Linked DNA regions of Homo sapiens: region 1 is linked to region 2. Evidence: promoter capture Hi-C in human tissues and cell types (Jung and others, 2019). All regions are on one chromosome and are shown on one strand. The core of a region is centred on a gene start or on the middle of the fragment in contact, and the rest is flanking DNA. Distances in the headings are between cores, read along the strand shown.

Region 1 (5,318 bases), core at 1,893-4,392, 82 kb after region 2:
CACCTCTTTCCAGCATTTAACTAAATTATGTAGGATCTTTTGAGAATTATAGAATTTTGAAGCTAACGTGTACTTTAAGGATAAGGATCTCCTAATCTAACCTCCTCATTTCCCAAAGGTCCAAGAGAGTTTTTCCTGCCCAAGTTAACAGAGCCAACACTAGAACTCTGGTCTCCTGATTCCAAGTCCAATTTGATATGTATGTTTTCTGTTTCCTTTTCCATTTTAAACTATCCCAACCATCATTGCCCAAGATTTGTTTTTTGCTTTACGGTCTCACGGCTTCTACTTAACGTCTAAATGTTCAGATTTTTTCATAATCCTATTTTATCCTTACAGCATTCTCCTAGGGTTTCCAGATTCTACTTTGAGAACTCTCGAGTGAGGAACGTGATCTGGAGGCTTCCCCACAAAACCCTGCTGGATCCTCCAAGAAGACAGAGAAATGTGTAACCCACAGTCTGTAGCAGTCTCTCTCTCATCCATTCCATACTGAGGTTTCCAAGGAAGCAAAGAGAGACTAACAGGAGGATTATGTCTGTTCTTTTTAGAAACAAGTCTGTTGAGATTTCATACATTCTGCTAATTTCTTCTTTTTGCTTCTATGTCAAGAAGGCTTTTTACCACCTGTCTGACAGCAGATCTCTCTTGCACTGTGGCACATTTAGCTACTGCAAAATTAGATGAAAACAGTTTTGTTTTGTTTTTCTAAGACAGAGGAGGAGCACAGAAGAGACATCAAAGATGATTCTGGCCAAGGCTGCCTCCCCTACAAGCTCCCAGTTGTGTGGGAAAGAGAAGCATAAACTCTTATGGGGGAAAAAAGAAGAAAGAATGGAGATGGGGAAAGTCAATTATAAATTATGAGAGCTGTGGTTTAAATGGGAGAGGTACGAGAAAAGTACAGGCTGACTCATAATTAGTACAGATAGTACAACACAAATTACCAATTTCATTGCTCTTTGAACATTCATTGCCACATAGAGCTCACAAATTTTGTGACCATGTCAACTACAATGAAATGAGAAAAATAGGAACATACGCTGAGTTTTTCATAATACTAAATTTATTCAATTTAAAGGAGCATCTTATATTTCAAGATTATAGTCTTCTTTCTTTCTTTAGTCCTAAAACATTTCTTTTATGAAACGACAGTGAAGGTAGATAATAATTGATTTTTTGTTTGTTTGTTTTTGAGACAGAGTCTTGCTCTGGTGCCCAGGCTGGAGTGCAGTGGTGCCATCTCAGCTCTGCAACCTCTGCCTACCAGGTTCAAGCAACTCTGCTGCCTCAGCCTCCCAAGTAGCTGGGATTACAGGTGCATGCCACTACACCTGGCTTTTTGTATTTTTAGTAGAGATGGTTTTCACTATGTTGGCCAGGCTGATCTTGAATTCCTGGCCTGAAGTAATCTGCCTGCCTCAGCCTCCCAAAGTGCTGGGATTATAGGAGCCACCACACCTGGCATAACTGGTATTTTTTATATGCTTCCTGGGCAACTTAAAAAATTGATTACTCTGTTGTTTCTTCCTTTTTTTTTTTTTTTGGCTTTGCACCAATTTGTGAGACCCAAGTATCTCCTACCTAGAAAAAAAACACACTAAACAGTAAATGATTACCAACCTATTTGGAACAAATCTCAATTAATTAACATATACTTCAAGGAGAAGACTTAACAAAATCTTACTTTTCATTCTTAATAGCTCTTTCCATAAAAATGTTCCACAAGTGTATCAAATTAGTCCTAACAACTACTGTTAAGTGATTAATGAAACAGGAGTGACAGGAGTGAATTTAATAATAGCAATAAATACAGATGGGACTACATAAATTGTGGAGGTCCTGATGCAAAACTCTCTCTGTATTCGATGGCATCTCAGCTTTCTCATCTGAAATGAATGAAGAAATTAATAATAATGATGCTCATAGCAATAAGAAAAAAATTCAAAACAAAACCCATACTCTCTGACAACATGCCTTTGTTCTTATTACCTACTACCCACTTCACATATGCTAGAAGCGCTAAACAAAGCTGCAAAGAGAAGGCAGTATGGGGATGAATGTGGTTCCTGGCCTTGTTGTAAAGCAGTATGGACCAGTGACTTCCTCCAGAGCATTTGCATTGTGTGGCAATAAAATGCAGTTGCACAAACATTGGGCAAACTCACTTAAAGAGGGAGCAGGCTTAGGACTAAAGGTGTTCTCTATTCTAGGCAACTTTTCAACCTGTCTTCCTCTAAAGTGGAGGCAGATTTTCCTCCACCTTCTATTCTCCTTTGAACCCCTTCCCCTTCCAGCACCTCCCATCTCTGGAGTTTGTCTAGAGTGATGCATATCACTGCTATTCATCTGCTTATTTAAAAAGCACTGGTCCCGGCCTAGAGTACTTACAGAGCTGTTTCACTGTGAGGGTCTTTATCCTTCATGCAGAGCTAAAAGCAAACATGGCAGTAAATTAGCCTGCTTTTTAAGGCCCATGGAGAAATATTTTGAATGCATTAAGATGGCTCGAGGACAGGTGTGTGTCCTGTGCACACCTCTGCACTGGCTCAGGCGTCATTTTTGGGGCCACACTAGTAGTTTTTATTAAACTCAAAGAAGATGTAACTCTTAGTTAAGATGCTTCCAGTGTCTTAGATACTTGAGTATTTACTTTTTTATAGAAAAAAAAATGCGGCCGAGTGCAGTGGCTCACACCTGTAATCCCAGAACTTTGGGAGGCCAAGGCAGATGGATCATTTGAGGTCAGGATTTCAAGACCAGCCTGGCCAACATGGTGAAACCCTGTCTCTACTAAAAATACAAAAAAACAGCCAGGCATGGTGCCACATGCCTGTAGTCCCAGTTACTCTGGAGGCTGAGGCAGGAGAATGGTGTGAACCTGGGAGGTGGAGCTTGCAGTGAGCTGAGATCACGCCACTGCACTCCAGCCAGGGTGACAGAGCAAGAATCCATCTCAAAAAAAAAAAAGAAAAAAATGCTTTGTGGCTGGGTGTGGTGGCTCATGCCTGTAATCCTAGTGCTTTGGGAGGCTGAGGCAGGCAGATCACTTGAGCTCAGGAGTTCGAGACCAGCCTGGGCAACATGGCAAAACCCTGTCTACAAAAAATACAGAAATTAGCCGGGCACGGTGGTGCATGCCTGTGGTCCCAGCTACTAGGGAGGCTGAGGTGGGAGGATCACTTGAGCCCAGGAGGTTGAGGCTACAGTGAGCTGTGATCAAGGCACTGCACTCCAGCCTGGGAGAGAGAGTAAAACTCTATCTCAAAAAAATAAAAAAAGAAAGAAAGGAAGACAGAAAGAAAGAAAGAAAAGAAACAACAACAACTAAAATATGCTTGGGATTGGAATAGGGGGTGGAGTGAATTTCTTCTTGAGAGACATGGCTGCCCTGTTGCTATGTGTTCCAAGGAGAATGCCCCTTGCTGAATGATGAACTCAGCCTAGGGCTTTCTGCCTTTTTTGCTCTCCTTTGGCACTGAATTAGCTGGCAGAGTCAAATGCATGGCATTAACCTAAGCATGCACGTATTCTGAATCATACCAACCAACGAGGATAACCACTTTATAATTCAAACACCAGTCCACTACAGCCAGGGCATGTGGCTATAGTCCAGAAGTGAGCAGCCAATGCCATCTTTTCCATGCAGATCTCTGAATCTAGAGCGGATGTTCCTCCCTATATTTATTTATTATACCACAGGTATCATAGCAACAATAAAGGGCAATTTAAAAGGAGGAAAATCAGCCCCCAATTGCCTACCCCTGGCAACACAGCTATTTTCAATTCAGGCTTTGCCCATGTGCACTTCTCTTCTTTGTAAATCTGTACTCATAATGTACATATAATTTTTATTCCCTTGAGCAACTGTATTTTAGATCTCATGGTATAAAGACCAGATTTGACTTTGCCAAGAAGGGTTCCTAACTGAAGTCACTTATATTTCTAGCTTTCTGCCTTTATTCAGATGATGGCTTTTTACTTAAATAGCTCAGAATACTTAGATACCTTCATTATTTTCTTTCTTCTAGCAATCAGTCCAAAGCACAATGTCAGAAAGATCACAACACATGCAGCAATAATGGGCTCTATTGGTACACCCACAGTTTTATCTGTAGGAAATGCAAACACAGGGAATAAGAATGAACATTTATATACTTCCAATACGTCCCAGCAATGGTGCCTTGAACTTTATGTGTGTCATCCCCTTAATTAAACCTTCTCAACAATCTCAAAAAGTAGGTATGATTGTCCTCATTTCACAGGTGAGGAACCAGGAGGTTTGAGGGGTTAGAGTGCTTGTTCAAAGTCATAGAATTAGGCCGGGTGCAGTGGCTCATGCCTGGAATCCCAGCACTTTGGAAGGTTGAGGCGGGCAGATCACTTGACGTCAGGAGTTCAAGACCAGCCTGGCCCACATGGTGAAACCCCATCTGTAAAAAAAAAAGAAAAAAAAAAAAATATATATATATATATAGCTGGGCATGGTGGCAAGTGCCTGTAGTCCCAGCTACTTGGGAGACTGAGGCAGGAGAATTGCTTGGTCCCAGGAGACAGAGGTTGCAGTGAGCCAGGGTCGCGCTACTGCACTCCAGTCTGGGTGACAGAGCAAGACTCTCTCTGTCTCCAAAAAAAAAAAAAAAAAAAAAAGTCACAGAACTGGTAAATGGTAGAGGCAGGTTTTGAATCAATTCCTTTGTGGAATAATAATTTATTGTAATATGAGTAACTCCCCTAAAACAAGTAGACCATTTTGTGCTTCCTTCACCCACAGTTTTTGCCACACACAGAGCAGAAGTAGATTGAAGTCAACGATTTTGCCTGGATTTTGAAAAGTCCAAAATATATTGGGAAGTATCCTGGGGTGGGTGAGGGAAGAGAGGGAGGAAGGCTTTGAGAGCAAGAAGAGAAAGGGTGGAGAGCTTTCTGGACTAAGAAGGAGAGAGAGGTCTGTGGGCCTCAAAAGCAGTGGGGAGCCTTGTACCTGTACTGCAATGGTGCCCCAAGCAGGTGACAAGACATTATAGAAGGTAGGTGGCTGCATAGTGTCTCTAGGGAAGTAGGACTCTAAGCATGAGCCTTCCCAACCTTGGCAAAGTTTTCTGCATCTCTCTAAATGCCATGCAAAGAGAGAGAGCCTACTTCTAACTTGGACTAGGAAGAGATCAGCAGCAACCATGACAGCTTGGAAGTGAAAGCCTACCCCTTTATTTTCTAAACACCAGGTCAACTGAGAGCTATTTTTTTTTTTTTGAGACGGAGTTTTGCTCCTGTTGCCCAGGCTGGAGTACGGTGGTGCAATCTCGGCTCACTGCAAT
Region 2 (4,901 bases), core at 1-2,500:
AACGGTCACTGCCACCCCAGAGTGCGTGGCAGGAAAACCCGAACCCTGGGGCCTCAGTGGCTTCACACAGAAGCAAGTAATGGGACAAAGAGTCAAAGCTGTGTGCTCCCTACGCTCCTAAAAACCCAACACTGACGCTGCCCACAGTTCTCTGTTTCATTAAACACAAGTCCCAATGTCACCTTCTTAGACATTTTTCCTATGTAACTGAAGGCAAAACACATTAAATATTTGCTCTCGTCTTCCTATGATGAGAGTTAGCTAGCAGGCTCATAAATAATCCATTGACCAGGTTCACTTTTCTGGACAAAACTGATGGTAAAAATACATACACAAAGTCTTTGTAATGTCTGATTCAGAAATTCTACCCCTCTCAAATTCTTCAGAGTCCCAAATGGAAAAGGAACAATTCAATATGCAAAAGCCCCAGTTCAGAAGAAAATCTGCTCCTTAGCCCAAGACCCAAATCCACTCTTGAGCTCCAGAGAGCTTTTTTTCAAGAACAAGTTTGAATGTACACAATTTTCAAGCAAATGATGGTTATATCCTTCAACCACGTAGCACAGTCGTTGGAGTTGGAGTTTCACATACATTCTGAATGGCCTGTGAGGTGTCTGAGAGCGCCTCAGCTCTGACAGTGAAACCACCCAAGCGCACGGAGACTCGGCCCACTTAGGCGCCACTCAGAGATTTCTCTAGCTGTCTGGGCATTTGTGTCAACCAGAACTCTCCCTTTGCATAAAGCCACCTGCACGCGATGACAGCAAAGTAAAGATCAAACATAAACCATGGGTTGAAACGAAAGCAAGCAACTCTTCCCAAAGCGCAGGACAGCACTTTGCTCAAGACCCTCTTTAAGGGGTCTTTCACGGGTCCTCAAGAGGTTGCAAAGCCCCTGCAACAATAGACAAAGGAGCCCCCTACGCCCGCCCACTTCGAGCACTCCACGTTCCTCGTCTCCCACTCTGGCCGGTCAGCTTCAGCTCTGGCTCTTGCTGAGCGTGGAGGGCGCAGGGGCAGGATCCGGCGCCCACCGCTGGGGCGCATGCACCTCCTCGCCTCCTCGCAGGGCGGTGGGGCGCAGCGGTTCTATCCCCCTCCCCGAGGCGGGGAAGAAGGTCTGGAAAGAAACGTGGGTTCGAGGCGGAGAGGAAAAGCGGACCCACCTGCCAGGCTGCGCGGGGAGGCTGGTCCCGGGCTGGGCAGGCGGGCTGGCCTCGCGCCCTCGAGGCACCCGGCGGCGCTGGCTGTGCGGAGGGGCGCCGGCGCGGCCGTATTTGTACCCGCGGGCCCTCACATGGTCTGATCTCTAGATAGCCGCCGCCAAAGAGCTCTTGAAGAATTTTTGCGTCACTTTGAGGCGAATAAACTTAATGCTTCCCCGCGGCCGCGGCTCCGCGCTCCCGCTGGATGGGGTTGCGCTCGCCAGGGAGGGGCCGCGCTACGGGGCGGGGTGCGCGCCCGACCCCAGAGCCAGGAGGGGAGGGACCCCCGACACACACACACGCTCGCAGGGAGGAGCGGAGCGCGGAGCAGCCGGCAGGGCAGGGCCGAGCGAGGAATCCTGACTTTCCTGCTCTTTAACTTTGCGGGAGGGGGGAGGCTGCACAAAGGAGCAGGTGTGCGCCTCCCCTGCCGCCCCGCGCCCACAGGACGGCACACAGGGGTCTGCTCGTGCCGCTTTCTCTTGACCTCGGACACCTCCCCATCGTCCCCATCCCGAAAGCTGCTCTCTCTTTCTTCCTGGGACCTAGCAGTACTCGATACCCATGCGTTTATCTGACTGACCGGCTGGGATGTGAGCTCAGCTTAGAGGCCCTTGTCTAATTCCTCTCCGTCCCCAGAGTCTCACAATAAAGACTTCCACAATGAAGGAATGAAGAACTGGTTCTCATTTTGTTAACCAGCTACAGTTCAAAGCTGCGTCAAAAAGGAGCACAGTGCTTTGGGAGGCTGAGGCGGGAGGATTGCTTGAGCCCAGGAATTCAAGACCAGCCTGGGCAACACAGCAAGACCCCATCTCTAGAAAAAAAATTTTTTTAATTAGCCGGGCGTGGTTGCTCGCGCTTGTGTTCCCAGCTACTCAGGAGGCTGAGGTGGAGGATCAGCTGAGCCCGGGAGGTCGAGGCTGCAGTGAGCCGTGATCGAACCACTGCACTCCAACCTGGTGACAATTTGAATTATCTGAAAGGGCCCAGCAGGAGCCTATTGTTTTGAACCATGTGCATGTAGTTTTGATAATTTTTTCAAAAAGTTTAAAAATTGATTTAATGTTAATATCCTTTTTGCTAAAATTATTTAAAACTTTAAAAAGGGCACATGCAGTACTTGCTTTGGGTTGTCCCTGAGGCGGAAAGGAGAGGGCTCTACCTCTCCCCAAGAGGAGGCCAGGAACGATAGGAAGTAGAAGACCGAAAGGAAATAGCAGTGACAAGTTTGCAGCTCCAGAGAAGCCACCGCCCCTTGTACTTGGAGGAACTGACCCCTGAAAACTGTGCGGCCGGTTGGGCTGAGCGTCTAGAGGGACTGAGCTGGACAACCACGGGCAAGCGAGGGCAGCTCCCAGCGGGTGGAGTCCGCGCGGGATTCTGGTGCCACCTAGACGCCAGGGCGGGGACCGCAAGGTGGGCGGGAGGCTTGGAGGCCGGGATGCGGGGGAATACTGGTAGGGTGCAAGGAGAATGCTGGAGGGGTGCAGGGGGGATGCCGGGGGTGCATGGGGGGATGCTGGGGGGTGCAGGGGGGATACTGCGAGGGGTGCAGGGGGGATAATGGGGGTTGCAGGGGAGATCCTGGGAGAGGTGCAGGGGGATGCTGGAAGGGCTGCAGGGGGGATGCTGGGGGTGCAGGGGAGATGCTGGGGGGGCTGCAGGGGGGATGCTGGGGGTGCAGGGGGGATGCCGCGAGGGGTGAAGGGGGGGATAATGGGGGATGCAGGAGCGATCCTAGGAGGGGTACAGGGAGTTGCTGGGAGGTTGCAGGGGGGATGCTGGGAGGGCTGCAGTAGGGACATTAGGGGTTAGGTGCTGGCATTCAGAGCGGCAACGCCAGGCGGGAGAATCCCCAACAAGCTTGGGAATTTCACCCCCAGGGGCAGCGCCTGCACGGGAGTGGGGCCTCCTCCTTTCAGATGAACACAGTTGTCTGCTGCCTCCCACGTTCCACTTCTTAAATGAGCATGTTTGTGCTGTATAGGCAAGGGCAACAGAAAACGCAAAGTGTCCTTTCCAGGAGGGCCAAAGGAGGGGGGCAGGGACGCTGGGAAGAGGCGCCAAAGCGGAGGACGGCTGCAGGGGTGACTTCAGCGCTTGGCTACCAAGACCAGGTCTGTCCAGTGTGACTTCTTAGCACTTCTTAATTGTGCAGTCTCGCCACTTCTGATCTTCCTTCTAGACTCTTTCTAGCCGAAGATGCATTCCTGCCCAGCGCGCAGCCCCTCCCTATGGCACTGCCCTGTTCTGTGCAGGTGCTGCCTAGAGAGTGGGCACCCTGTGGACCTGGGTCAAATCCCGGCCCCCACCCTGTACTGTGGTGTGGGCTTGACCGAGCTCCTTAACCTCAAGCTGTCTGGCCTTTGTGTCTCTGTTTGTGAAGTAGGGAGGATGATCTCAGTGGGCACTGCCCAGCTGTGGGTGGGGAAGGGGCCAACTCCTTGCAGGCCCTGTGCGCTGGGCCCTTCCTCCAAGGGGGCCTTCGACCCCTCCTCTCTCTGGCCGGGTGGTCCCATCTCCTCCCCTCTTGCTCCCCAGCTGCGGGCAACCACCATTAGCAAATGACATTAGAATTACACAGACGGCCCCGCCCTGGTTCCCCCTGCCTCCATGGCAGAGTCCGCACACAACTGGCCCAGACCCTCCCCCTCTCTCTAAACAGGTGTTTCTCTTCCTCCTGCCCTGGGTACCATCCCACAGAGAGGCCAGGCCCACCTGCAGGTCCTCACCTCCACAGAGCCAGCCTCTCTTGAGCAGCTCCGCTCTGCCTTCTGATACTCATCGCCACAAGCACCTTGTCCTTCCTCGGCCTCCCACTCCCTCCCTCTGAGCCCGCGCCCTGCTCCCCTGCCTGGCGGTCAGTCGACTGCCCCGCCCCGCCTCCAATTCAGGTGGACAGGCTTCAGCGTCCACTACCGGGGAAGAGGCAGCCCCGCACCCGTGCCTCCCCCCGCCTCTGGGCCGCTCCTTCCCAGCCTGAGCCTGACCGCATGAGGAAGGCACAACCTCTCTGCTCCAGAGACCTGGAGAGGCCGGGAGGCCCTGTCCTGGGCATGGAAGGCAGGAGGGAGCCCTGAGTGCGGCAGGAGGGAAGCAGCGCTTCAGGGGAAGGATCTAATGGCTGTGACCTGCGTGGGCTGCAGGTAAGAGTAGGGGGGAAGGGGGTTGTCGTGGTGGTTGGGACAGACGGGTTCCTTAGAATGTGAATGCAGGCGTCAGCTGGTGGCCGCAGGGAAGAGATGCAAGCCAGAAACCCAGCAGGCACCTGCGAAGCTTGGTGCTGGTGGTGTATAGGGACAGCCAGGGAGATGTCAAGGGCGACAGGTCCTGGGCAGCTGGGAAGAGGCTGCCTGGCAATCACCGCACAGCAATAGTTTTTCTTTGTTCACCTGCTTGAGCCCAGAAATAGTGGGGCTTAGAAGCTGCTCTGGGGCTCAGAATAAATACAAGCTTTCACTTTAAGAGGAAAGGGGCACATAAATATTTACACCTGCCCCAAACACCACCAAGAAAACCCACTTCCTGGAAGTCTCAAAGGCCAGCAGTGAGTCCCCTGTGGAGCCAGCCAGGACCGAACCATGCGAATCCCAGGCTCTCCCTCCGGAAGCCCTTGGTGCCATCTGTCTGTCCTGTCTCTGCCCTGTTTATACAATAACGAAAGAAGAAGGCCCACCCCTCCTTGTGGGCTTT

The links. Contacts are between HindIII fragments. The study calls those that stand out against the background at their distance.
Region 1: a fragment that was not itself captured here is called in contact with the fragment with the promoter of SLC6A4 in region 2 in 2 of the 25 tissues and cell types used here (IMR-90 fibroblasts and lymphoblastoid cells).

The regions. Positions count from the first base shown.
Region 1 is chr17:30,314,802-30,320,119 of GRCh38, forward strand. TMIGD1 (transmembrane and immunoglobulin domain containing 1) reads right to left here. Exons shown (of 7, transcript NM_206832.3): 5 at 4,009-4,112; 6 at 2,392-2,432; 7 at 1,532-1,889. The coding sequence ends at 1,886. Among named protein-coding and RNA genes, the nearest start is that of TMIGD1, 17 kb to the right of the region's middle. The HindIII fragment of the contact is 8,272 bases long and covers 1-5,318 here.
Region 2 is chr17:30,234,447-30,239,347 of GRCh38, forward strand. SLC6A4 (solute carrier family 6 member 4) reads right to left here and starts at 1,251. Exons shown (of 15, transcript NM_001045.6): 1 at 1,167-1,251. LOC105371720 (a long non-coding RNA gene) reads left to right here and starts at 3,052. Exons shown (of 3, transcript XR_007065698.1): 1 at 3,052-3,325; 2 at 3,874-4,354. RefSeq lists promoters at 1,035-3,061, 1,035-2,819, 1,035-1,329, 1,225-3,049, 1,230-3,075 and 1 more, cis regulatory regions at 1,330-2,819, 1,691-2,515, 2,392-2,431, 2,659-2,829, 2,698-2,717 and 2 more, a silencer at 1,485-1,667 and an enhancer at 3,883-4,783. The HindIII fragment of the contact is 6,948 bases long and covers 1-3,777 here.